4 separate regions of the Homo sapiens genome follow, and all the other regions are linked to region 4. The links are contacts of gene promoters, found by promoter capture Hi-C in human tissues and cell types (Jung and others, 2019). All regions are on one chromosome and are shown on one strand. The core of a region is centred on a gene start or on the middle of the fragment in contact, and the rest is flanking DNA. Distances in the headings are between cores, read along the strand shown.

The links. The method cuts DNA at HindIII sites, captures the fragments that hold promoters and counts their contacts. A contact is called where the count stands out against the background at its distance.
Region 1: a contact is called between a fragment that was not itself captured here and the fragment with the promoter of TLE1 in region 4, in 2 of the 25 tissues and cell types used here (mesenchymal stem cells and mesendoderm cells).
Region 2: a fragment that was not itself captured here is called in contact with the fragment with the promoter of TLE1 in region 4 in 1 of the 25 tissues and cell types used here (mesenchymal stem cells).
Region 3: a fragment that was not itself captured here is called in contact with the fragment with the promoter of TLE1 in region 4 in 2 of the 25 tissues and cell types used here (lymphoblastoid cells and mesenchymal stem cells).

Annotation. Positions count from the first base shown.
Region 1 is chr9:81,176,089-81,178,788 of GRCh38, reverse strand. No RefSeq gene overlaps it. Among named protein-coding and RNA genes, the nearest start is that of TLE1, 510 kb to the left of the region's middle. The HindIII fragment of the contact is 4,846 bases long and covers 1-2,700 here.
Region 2 is chr9:82,293,947-82,296,646 of GRCh38, reverse strand. The region is part of intron 4 of LOC105376107 (a long non-coding RNA gene); the gene reads right to left. Among named protein-coding and RNA genes, the nearest start is that of SPATA31D1, 310 kb to the right of the region's middle. The HindIII fragment of the contact is 5,658 bases long and covers 1-2,700 here.
Region 3 is chr9:82,267,052-82,269,751 of GRCh38, reverse strand. The region is part of intron 1 of LOC105376107 (a long non-coding RNA gene); the gene reads right to left. Among named protein-coding and RNA genes, the nearest start is that of SPATA31D1, 280 kb to the right of the region's middle. The HindIII fragment of the contact is 5,414 bases long and covers 1-2,700 here.
Region 4 is chr9:81,688,102-81,690,801 of GRCh38, reverse strand. TLE1 (TLE family member 1, transcriptional corepressor) reads left to right here and starts at 1,255. Exons shown (of 20, transcript NM_005077.5): 1 at 1,255-2,585. The coding sequence starts at 2,562. It overlaps TLE1-DT (TLE1 divergent transcript), which reads right to left and starts at 1,089. Exons shown (of 4, transcript NR_109772.1): 1 at 843-1,089. RefSeq lists silencers at 708-857, 1,008-1,357 and an enhancer at 1,230-1,944. The HindIII fragment of the contact is 9,578 bases long and covers 1-2,700 here.

The DNA.
Region 1 (2,700 bases), core at 102-2,601, 510 kb after region 4:
ACTTTGGAAAACTGTTTGGAAGTTTCTTAAAGGTTAAACATACCATATCACTCAGCCATTCTACTCTCAGATAGATACCCAAGAGAAATGAAAGCATAAAGGTCCATTCAAAAACCTGTATGTGAATGTTCATAGCAGTATTATTCATCATATCCAAAACAACCCAAATGGCCATACAACATTTGATTCTATTAATAGAAAATTCTACCAAATTAAGACTTTCCTATGATAAAAGTCAGATTGGCATTTGCCTGCGGTAAGAGGAGAGGGAAGGATGGACTGCAAAGGGATGCCAGAAAGCTTTTGAGGGTGATGAAAATGCTCTGTAATTGATTGTGGTTTTATAGGTGTATATATTTGTTAAAATTCATCAAATTGCATATTTTAAATGAATACTATTTCTTGTACATAAATTGGACTTCAATAAAATTGATAAAAAGAGACCCAGTCAAGGAAACACCTTGGACAGCTATGAGCAAAGCAAATCAGTATAGGAGTAAGAACCCATCCTGGAGTGAAAAGCAAAGCCAGGGACAAAATCTAGAGAGAAGAAAATCTGAGCTCGATTATTTTTGCCCTACAAATATTTCCTCTCTTTCAATTGACTAATGAGTGCAAACTTGTGGGATTAACTGATAACTAAGTCTGGGATAATAATAATGACAACACTTTAATAATTGCATCTATAATTTATAGATTGTTTATTCTATGACAGAATATACTACTAAGTTCTTCAAAATATATACACCATATATTTTGACCTCATTAAAAATTTGAGGGGTCATAGGGAGGTCTTCCACAATTTCCTGACTCTCTTTTTTCCCTCTTATATCCTCCCTTTTACCCTGCTCATCTGCTACTCTTGAGAAACAATTCTTTCTGTCTCTTACAGGGTGGTTCTCTACATATTCAGTCCTGTTTCAGGGTCTTATCTGTTATTCCAAACAGCTCTCTAAGAACCTTCCTTCAAAAAAATAAATTTCTACCCTTCTTAAAGAGGTTTCTGTAGTACAATTTTCTCCATTCAGAGATATGCATGCAGGCAGGCAACAAAATTAGGATTCTTTTTTAATGTTCATAATATCCCCCCCACGGCATGGAAATAATTGTCCTAATTTCCTTATGAAGAAACTAAAGTGTTAAAGGTTAAGAGAGCCTGCCTGAGTTTGTGCAATTACTAAGTGGTGAATCTAGGGTTTGGTTTCAGATCTTTCTGGTTTCAAACAATGCATTGTCCACCTCTTAAACTCATTCATTAAATAGAGATTGGGGCCTTGCCTAGCTGGAGTTAGAAGTGGTCCATGGCATTTGAAGCTGACAGTAGGCAGGGAGGCAGCATACTTAGATTAGTAGTTTGCTGGGAAATCCAGAACCAGGGCAAAGGGAGAGGCGTGGTTGGATATATAAAACACAATGCAATGATGAGGTTGGCATTTACTAATATGATGAATTTTTGTGTCTTTCCACAATGTGCCAAGCACCTTTCTAGGCTCTGAAGATCTAGCATCAAATATAACATAGCTCCCGCCTTCTGTGAGTTTCCAGTTGAGAGGAAGAGACAGACCCTTGGGTCAATGTTTGATATTCAGTAATTTGCAATACAGGTATGCACATGGTAGCCCAGGGGCTGGCACATACTTAGTATTCAGTAGTGATTAATCTATATCTATGCTGTGAGGCACAGACACACAACTTTAAGTCATACTGGCAAAGCCAGTAAAGGCATTTTTGAAGAGATGTTAAAGCACAAATATATAGGTGAAAAGTGAATGAAAGACATTCCAAGAAAATCCCTTGGCACCTGCTAATGCAGGTAGGCATGGCATAAAACTGAGTTGCCCAGGAACATTGAAGGCATTTGTCAGGGCTGGAGTGGAGGGTGAGTGTGAGCGAGGCAAGTGTTATGTATGAGGCAAGTGAGGGAGGTGAAGGACAAACTCTAAAAGGGTCTTGTGTGTTACCCATTAAGGAATTTCAACTTTTTCCTTTAAGCTTAGGGAGTCACAGAAGGACCTAGAGCAGGTGAATGTCATGATAAATTGTGATAGTGGAGATATGAAAAGATGGTTGCAAGTTGTCCCAGGAATGTAGCCTTCATTTTGACCTAACTCTTTCTGGCACACTGAGCAAGATGTGAGGATGCTTTGGCTATAGTATCTAGGAACACATTAATGGCTGACATTGATTCTGTCAGGTTGGCAAATTTCTTCTTTGAGATTGGTGGTAGAAAAAAGAAACTAAAAATTATTAAATATAAAGTTTATGCCAGACCCAGGGCTAGGTTCTTACTGAGTTATTTTATATAATTCTCACAATCATTATATGAATATTGATGCTACACTCAGATATTCAGGCACCCAGCCAGTTAAATACTGTGGCATCTGAGGCACAGTAAATGTTCTCTACATTTACCAGTTAGGCTGATCCCTACTACTGTTTTGTCCAAGATACTGGAAGCAGAAATAATGGGTGCCACTTTGAGACAGAGGAGGCAAGAGCCAGTGTGTATCTTCCATCTCTTTATTTCTTTACTATAGTAAACTTGGAAATACTTACAAGGTATTTCTGATGGCATAAATTCAAATTGAAGAACAGCCAACCAAGACATTGAGTGAGTAAGAAATATACCTCTATTTTTTGAGTCACTGAGATTTTAGAGTTATTTATTATGGCACTATATGATAAACTATCCTCACTAAT
Region 2 (2,700 bases), core at 129-2,628, 610 kb before region 4:
CACTAAGGTACCTATGTACAGCATTTCAGCAGGACATTCAGGTGGGGTGCAGGACAACTCTTTGACCATGCATTGCACAAGGTCTAGTAGCCCTGGACTCCATCCATTAAGCATCACTTGTGCCCCAAACCATTGTGAACTCCAAAAAATGCCCCCATACATTTTCAAAAATCCTTGCAAAGACGTTTGCAATCTCCTCCACAGTGTCCCTCCTAATTAACCCATACCCCTTTCTCACTTGCTTCACCCCTAGCACAGTTATGGGCAAATGTCTTCATTGCTGTGTTCCAATCAAGCCCAGGAAGCAGCTTGTTTCTCTCTGTTCTGTGTATCTGTTCCCTGTCTATGTCTACAGTGTTATCAGGGAATCACCCTGACAGCATCAAATCCCTTAACCTAATTATTATAATGTCTTAATGAACAATCATTAAGAATGACTATTCCTGCACCCATTGAGAACCAATTTATTTAGTAACAATGAGAAACAAAATACTGATTTCACCAAACATTGTGAAAAAGAGGATGGGAGAAGGGGAATAATGTATGTTGGAGGCAAATGGAGTTTAAAAGAGTTAAACCTTTATCTTTCATATCTGTCATAATAAAAATAAAAACTCAATATGTAATATCTAAAACTGAAGAATCAAGAACCGCAAGTATAACTGTGTTATATAGAAAAATGGTGGCAAATACCAGAAGCATTGACAGAATGAAAAGTGGTGGTTCTTGAAAGCAGGACTGACAGTAGGGAAAAAGAGGTCAAAGGTCTGCTGGTTTTCATTGTAAACCTTGTAACATTATTACTCTTTCCAGAAATAGAACATCTATGGCTTACTTTGATGAAACTTTAATTGACAAAATCGTTAACTCCTTCACCTGCTCCAAGGCTAAACAGTCACAGTTACTGTTACCTTGCATGAAATGATTTTATTAAATAAAATCTTACTATAGGTTCAGTTACCTGGTTTCAACTTGTGCTAAAGCTAGTTCTAACAGGAATAAAATATTGAAACTGTCACTCATACTCTAATATTATCCTTGGTTAACCGTGTCTGTGATGCCAACTACACACCCAATCAAACATCTAAAGTTACGAACTGGCTGCAGAGTTGGTGCCCTGGTTACAAAACACTGACCAGCTGTAGGAAACACAGAGGGGAAAAAGTTATGCCTTGGCTACTGAGCACAATCCATGCTCAGTGCTAACGATCCTATGTCAGTCCATAAATTATAATGGCTAACACTGGAACATTAACACCACCCAAAAACACACTCGTAAGCAAGCCCGAGCGGCAAAATGAGGTCATGGAGAGGCTTAAATCTATTTTAGGATATATCTTGAACACCAGTATAGTTCCTTTGACACCACCTGTTCTCATTTGGAGGACTGTATATTGAAGTCCCACAACAGCAACTGGGCTCAAACCCAGTGCTGACTCTACAGTCCAGTTCAGGATAAATGCTGTCTTGTCATTAGGTGCTGACCTTTAGATGAGACATTTAAGTCCCTCTGACAACATTCCCCACCTTCTGCTTAATTGGCACAGTATAAAAGATGTGGCTGAGAGAGCATTCGACAGTGGTCATAGTTGCCTGCATAATATCATAGTAAAAGAAGCATGTGAAAAAATAGGTGGATAATATAATCCAATACAATAAATCACTTTTGCTGAGGATCACAGTGGCATCAAGATGACAACTTGCACTCACACTAGGAATTTACTTATTCTCCATAAAACTATTCTTGCCCCATTTCATAATGAAATCTCAGTGTTTGGGATGAGTACCTACCTTCATATATAACATGTGCCAGTACCCTCCAAAAAAGATGAGCTTATGTCCAGATTTCTTTCAAAGTCACAATTCCTAAGTGTGGTAAAGTTGGTATAACTTGGTTTTTAAAGCCATCAAAGAAAACTTTAATAGTTAACTTAAAATCATTTCAAATAATAGGTGATATGGTTTGGATGTATGTCCTCACTGAATCTCATGTTGAATTGTAATCCCCAGTGTTGGAGGTGGGGCCTGGTGGGAGGTGATTGGATCATGGGGATGATTATTCATGAATGGTTTAGCACCATCCCCTCAGTGTTGTTCTCATGACAGTGAGTGAGTGAGATATCCAGAGATCTGGTTGTTTAAAAGAGTATGACACCTCGCCACTCTCTCTCTTTCTCCTGCTCCAGTCATTCCAGTCATGTGAAGTGCTGGCTTTCCTTTTGCCTTCTGCCCTGATTGTAAGTTTCCTGAGGGCTCCTCAAAAGCTGAGCAGATGTCAGCATCATGCTTCCTGTACAGCCTGAGGAACTGTCAGCCAATAAAACTTCTTTTATTTATAAATTACCCAGTCTCAAGTATTTCTTTATAGCAGTGCCTGAACAGACGAATACAATATGTAAATCAAAATATAAATTACTGATACCCTTTGGAGTACAAAGGAATTGGTTAGCAAAAGTTAGAAATTAAAGGCTTAAGGTTTTTGCCACAAAAATTTTCAGTTGTTTTTTGCTGAATTTCACAAATGCTTCTGCACTTGAGAAAGTGAATGCATGTTGTTTTGTAGCATTGTAAAGTATTTATAATGTCTTCATCATGTGCTCAAAACTAAACCACTGGCTTCCAAACCTTTCAAGTCATTCCATTTTCTCCCAGCACCTAATACTGCTTTCCCCTCCCCTATAGTTCACAATAAATGTTGAT
Region 3 (2,700 bases), core at 74-2,573, 580 kb before region 4:
TACCACCTTGTACTTCCTTATTGTAACACTGAAAACTGTAAGATCTAAGAAGGAAAGAGAGGGTGATTATCTTGTTATCAATTGTATTTTAGAGCCTAGACAGTGCATGACATAAATAATAAATATTTGCTGAATATACATTACAAATACATAAATTTTATTTCAGAGCTCTGTTACTTTAATTGGTACTAAATAATTTTTGCTAATTCTCCCAACAACCTAGCCATCTCTGTCCTTCTAGTTTACAAACATCATAATTAAATATTAGATTTGGTTCCTTTGTGTCTTCAAAGGGCACTGTAAGGCATTTATTTTATCCTCTCCATGTTTGATTTGAGAGAGCAGCACTAATTTTATTTCATAGATGACAAGCCTGGGGCAAAATCTTCTATATCTGGTCCCAGGAAACAAACACAATCTCTGAATAATAAAAGTGAAAGTGGGGCCGGGCTCAGTGGCTCATACCTGTAATCTCAGTGCTTTGGGAGGCCAAGGTGTTAGGACTGCTTGAGGCCAGGAGTTCAAGACTAGTCTGGGCAACATAGGGAGAGCCTGTTTCTACTAATAAAAAAAAAAAAAATTAGCTGGGCAGGCTACTGTAATCCTAGCAACTTGGGAGACTGAAGCAGGAGAATCTCTTGAGCCTGGTAGTTTGAGCCTGCAGTAAGTTGTGATCACACCATTGCACTCGAGCTTGGGCAATAGAGCAAGATCCTATCTCTAAAATAATTAATAATTTTTTTAATGAAGGAGAGAACTCAAGAAATCTTGATTTTTAATTTCATTTGTAATTTCTTATAAGGAAGAGAATCTTAAAATGCTTCCTGTGGAGGCCAAGCTTTGAGGATGTGCCTTTGCAGACACACAAACAAAATTAAAATCTGACAATGAAAATGCACTTAAAGAATCATCCAAAGTAAAAAAAAAAAAAATAGAATAATAAATACACATAGAGAAGCATACTGTAACACTGAGGTGGTCAAGGTGGAGTTTACTAAAGCCTGCTCTGTTGGCATTCCAAAGCATGTTATGACGGCATGGAGCAGAATAATAAAATTTGTATCCTTATGTGAAAAATAAAATTCAGATAAAAAAGAAGGTACATGAAGAAGTAATTTAAAGTCCCCCATTAGTGCATTTCTTTACAAATCAATTGGCCAGAGATAAAAGGTATTGCAGAGCTTTCCTTGCTCATTTTTATATAACTTCATGGAAGAAAAGATAGATGTGTTACTTTGTAAAAACACTGTACACAGACAAAATAGAAAAAAATTTTAAGCATTTAGTCCCATTTTTAATATAGCATCAGTCTGAAAAATGATGTGACACACAGGAGCTAAAGCTTGTATTAAAATGGTTACTAAAGGCCGGGCACGGTGGCTCACATCTGTAATCCTAGCACTTTGGGAGACCAAGGCGGGTGGATCACGAGGTCAGGAGATCGAGACCATCCTGGCTAACATGGTGAAACCCCGTCTCTAATAAAAATAAAAAATTAGCCGGGCATGGTGGCGGGTGCCTGTAGTCCCAGCTACCGGGGAGGCTGAGGCAGGAGAATGGCATGAACCCAGGAGGCGGAGTTTGCAGTGAGCTGAGATTGAGCCACTGCACTCCAGCCTGCCTGGGTGACAGAGCAAGACTCCGTCTCAAAAAAAAAAAAAAAGAAAGAAATAAAATGGTTACTAAAAGCCGGGTGCGGTGGCTCACGCCTGTAATCCCAGCACTTTGGGAGGCTGAGGTGGACAGATCACGAGGTCAGGAGTTTGAGGCCAGCCTGACCAACATGGTGAAATCCCATCTCTACTAAAAATACAAAAATTAGCTGGGCATGGTGGCATGTGCCTGTAATCCCAGCGACTCAGGAGGCTGAGGCAGGAGAATCGCTTGAACCCAGGAGGAAGAAGTTGCAGTGAGAGGAGATTGCGCCACTGCACTCCAGCTTGGGTGACAGAGCAAGTCCTTGTCTCAAAAAAAAAAAAAAAAAAAGGTTACTAAAATATATTCAACTATGTATTGTGTAGATGAGCCCTGATGCTGTATGCCAGGATATTCAAATAGAGCTGGACAAGCCACACAAATAAGTGTTCTCTTTATATTTTCTAGTTTGGGAATTATCTGTGATTCTAATGGCCTAGAATAGTGTAATTCACATTTCGTAGGGAACCTAACTAGGTATGTTAATCAAAATAAGCACATGTATTATATGATTATTTCTAATGAAAATGCAGATGTATGTTTGTTTATAAAATAAACCTCATTAACTAAGCATATTCCAAACACAATATGATTCCACTACCTGATATATTTAACAAGTGGAACAAGTTCAGTTTGGCATGTTAGGGTTATAATGTCACAGGACTTACAACTACAGATATTTTATGGGGAAATGACACAAACTAAGTCTTTGAATATAATATGCTAAGCATAAATATCTGTAAAACTGACTGGTGGAAAATTTTTGGATTTCTAACAAGCAAAGGCACTAAAATATGTAAAGTATATAAATTACTATTTTAAATATTTCTTGATGATATAAAGAATATTAGAAACATATATCCCTATAAAAGAAGTGAATATGACTGACTTAGGCACATGAGCATGAACTTACTCTTAGTTGGAAGCTTACTAATAATGGTGTATGACAGTTCATATACTTTGGCATTGATTTAACTTTGGCGTTAACAGTTTCTACCACCTCTT
Region 4 (2,700 bases), core at 6-2,505:
GAGTACCACCCAGACTGTGGGGGTGGGGTGTGCGGGACAGGTTTTTCAGGTCTCAGTGCTGGTTTATTACATTGTCTCTCTTTGTTCCCAGGAATTGGAAACAGACTCGTAGTCTTGTAGCTGAGAAGTTCCTAAAAACCTCAGCCGCTCCCCACCTCTCCCAACACAGCGAAGTCAGGACTTTTAAGACGAAGACCTGGGATTTCGCGCCCCGGGCAAAACGTCTCATCTGCGGACACGCGTGCCTTGTTCTGGCAGCACCCTGGGAATCCTTCCCGCCAAACGGGACAGGACGATCTTTTTGAAAAGTGGCTTGAAATCCTGCAATAAAAATCAAATCCTACCACTTTGGGTGCAAAGGGGGTGGGTGGGGTGGGAGGACATCACAGTCGTCTTTGCTGGTGTACCTACGCCAACCGTGGCGTTGCTCATTTACGCATTTCCAACTAAGTGCACAGTCCACTCCCTCTCGTACATCCGTAAAAAGGCAGCTCAAGGAAAAACAAACCTCAGATAAATTTTTGAATGTGGCCTCACTTTTAGAGTAGCATCAAACAAGGGGTCCAGCACTGAAAAACACATTTGCTCGAATTACCAAAAGCCCCCCTCCGCCTCCAATAAGAAACTCCGCAGCTAGTCTTTGAGTTACTTTCACTTAGATCTGAGGATTTTCATTAAAGGGAAAAGTGAGCAAGTGGCAGGATTTTTGCTAACTCGAGCCCTCAGCTTCCCCGGCTGCACGCTCGCCAGTCCCTCCCGCTAGCGCGCGCCCGCGCGCTCTCTAGCCAGCCCCACGTTACTTTGATTGACAGCCCAGCCCCGCCGCTCTCCTTCCCACCGACCTTCCCATCATCAGTGCCAATCTCCGCGAATCGCCGCTTCCCATTGGCTGGTTTTGGCGTCCCGCGGCTCCTCCAGGAACAGTTCCTCACCAAGCCCGGGAGGACGCGGCTGGCGGAGGAGGGGCCGGGATGGGAAGGGAGACCGAGGAGACGGCGGAGATGGAAGCGAGAGGAGGGGGGGAGGGAGAACGCCCCGTCCGGCGCTGCGCTGCCATACGCTCCGGGGAGGAGCGCGTCAGCGCCCCACGTTGGTTGCAGCGCACGCGATTGGCTGATGCGGGCCTTCTGCCCCCCCCCCACCCCCCAACCTCCCGGGCTCACGTCCCCCGCCGGCTCCGCGCTCGCGCCCCCCGCCCGAACGGGGCTGGGCGGGGCCGGCGCTGGTTAGCTCCGGAGTGTGAAACCGCGTGTTAATGTAAGCGGCGCGAGAGGCGCGGGCGGCGGCGGCGGTGGGAGCGGCGGCTGCAGAAGCAGCAGCAGCAGAAACAGCGGCGGGTACTCTGTGCCCCGCGTCCCGGAGGCAGCCGACTGCGCCACCCCACCCTCGCACGGCCGGGCGGGACCCGCGCCACCAGCCCGGACCTCCGTCGTCCCGCGGCGACCAAAACCCCCGCTGGCCCCACCGCTGTGACTACTCTGGACTCGCCCGCAGAGTTTGCCCGCCGGGGAGGGTGGCCGATTGGCGGAGCGCACTCCTGCTGTTTTCCCCACCATCTCGTGGATGTCGTCCCTCGGGTGGTGAGAGAACTTTGCAGTGGGCTGGAGCGCCCTTTGCGGAGAAGCACACGAAGGTGAAGGAAGGAAAGAAAGAAGACCGAGGAAGAAGGAGCTCGGAAGAAGGGTCCGGAGCGGCCGGTCCGGCCGTGCAGGGCGAGTGCGCCCGAGGCGCGGCGCCCTGATGCTCCCCGGGCTCGAGGAGCATTGGGCACTTGCGGGACTGCTCTCGGTGGAGTAGCCCCGTCGGGCCCGGAGGGTTTGTGCAACCGCGGAGAACACCGAGTGCTGGTCGCACGGGGCGTGCCGAGCCGCCTCCCGGCGCGCCCTCCGCACTTTCCCCGCCTCGTCATCCGTCGCTCCCCGGCCAGGAGCCTCCGCTGCGTCTTCAACCTCGCTCCCCTTTGCGTCCCGGGAGCCTGCGAGCACCCGGCCGAAGGCGCAGCCGAATCTTGCGGGAGTCGCCCCGAAAGCGTCGGGTTTGTGTGGGGTTAGCGGGGGCCGCCGCGCCACCTGCACCTCGCCCGCCGCCGCCTCGGGGAAAGCCCGAAGAGGAGGCGGACCAGGAGAAGAGCAAAGAAAAGCAGTCCGTCTGGATTTGTTTGCCCAGGACTGGCGCCGCGCACGCGGATCGCCGAGGGGAGTGCGGTCGGAGTCACCGCGCCCCCGCCTCCCCGCCCGGGCAGCTGAGGCCGGGGGTTGGAGCGCTGCCCCCGCGCACAGTCCCCGAGCGCCCGACGTCTCCGCGCAGGTTCTTGAAGCAGCTGGGCCTGGGGCGCCCACTAATGTGGCCCTGAGGGCCGGAGCCCGCACCGACGGGAGCGGGAGCCGGAGCAGCTGCGGGCGCCGAGTGGCCGGTGCGCCCGGCGGAGCGCGCGTGCGTGGCCAGCGCGCTCCCCGCTTCTGCTTGGCTTTCCGGCTTAATTTTCCTCGGCGGGATTAAAGTTGGAAATTGACCGGAGAATTGAGTTGCCGGGGAACAGAGCCCCGGCCGCCGCCAGAGCGATGTTCCCGCAGAGCCGGCACCCGGTGAGGCGCGGCTGGGTGGTGGTGGGGGGCCAGGATCGTTGGGGAGGCGCTTCTCCCGGGCGGTAGGGAGACTGGTGGCTTCTGAGGCCCGGCGGACCTTCTCGCCCTCAGCGGT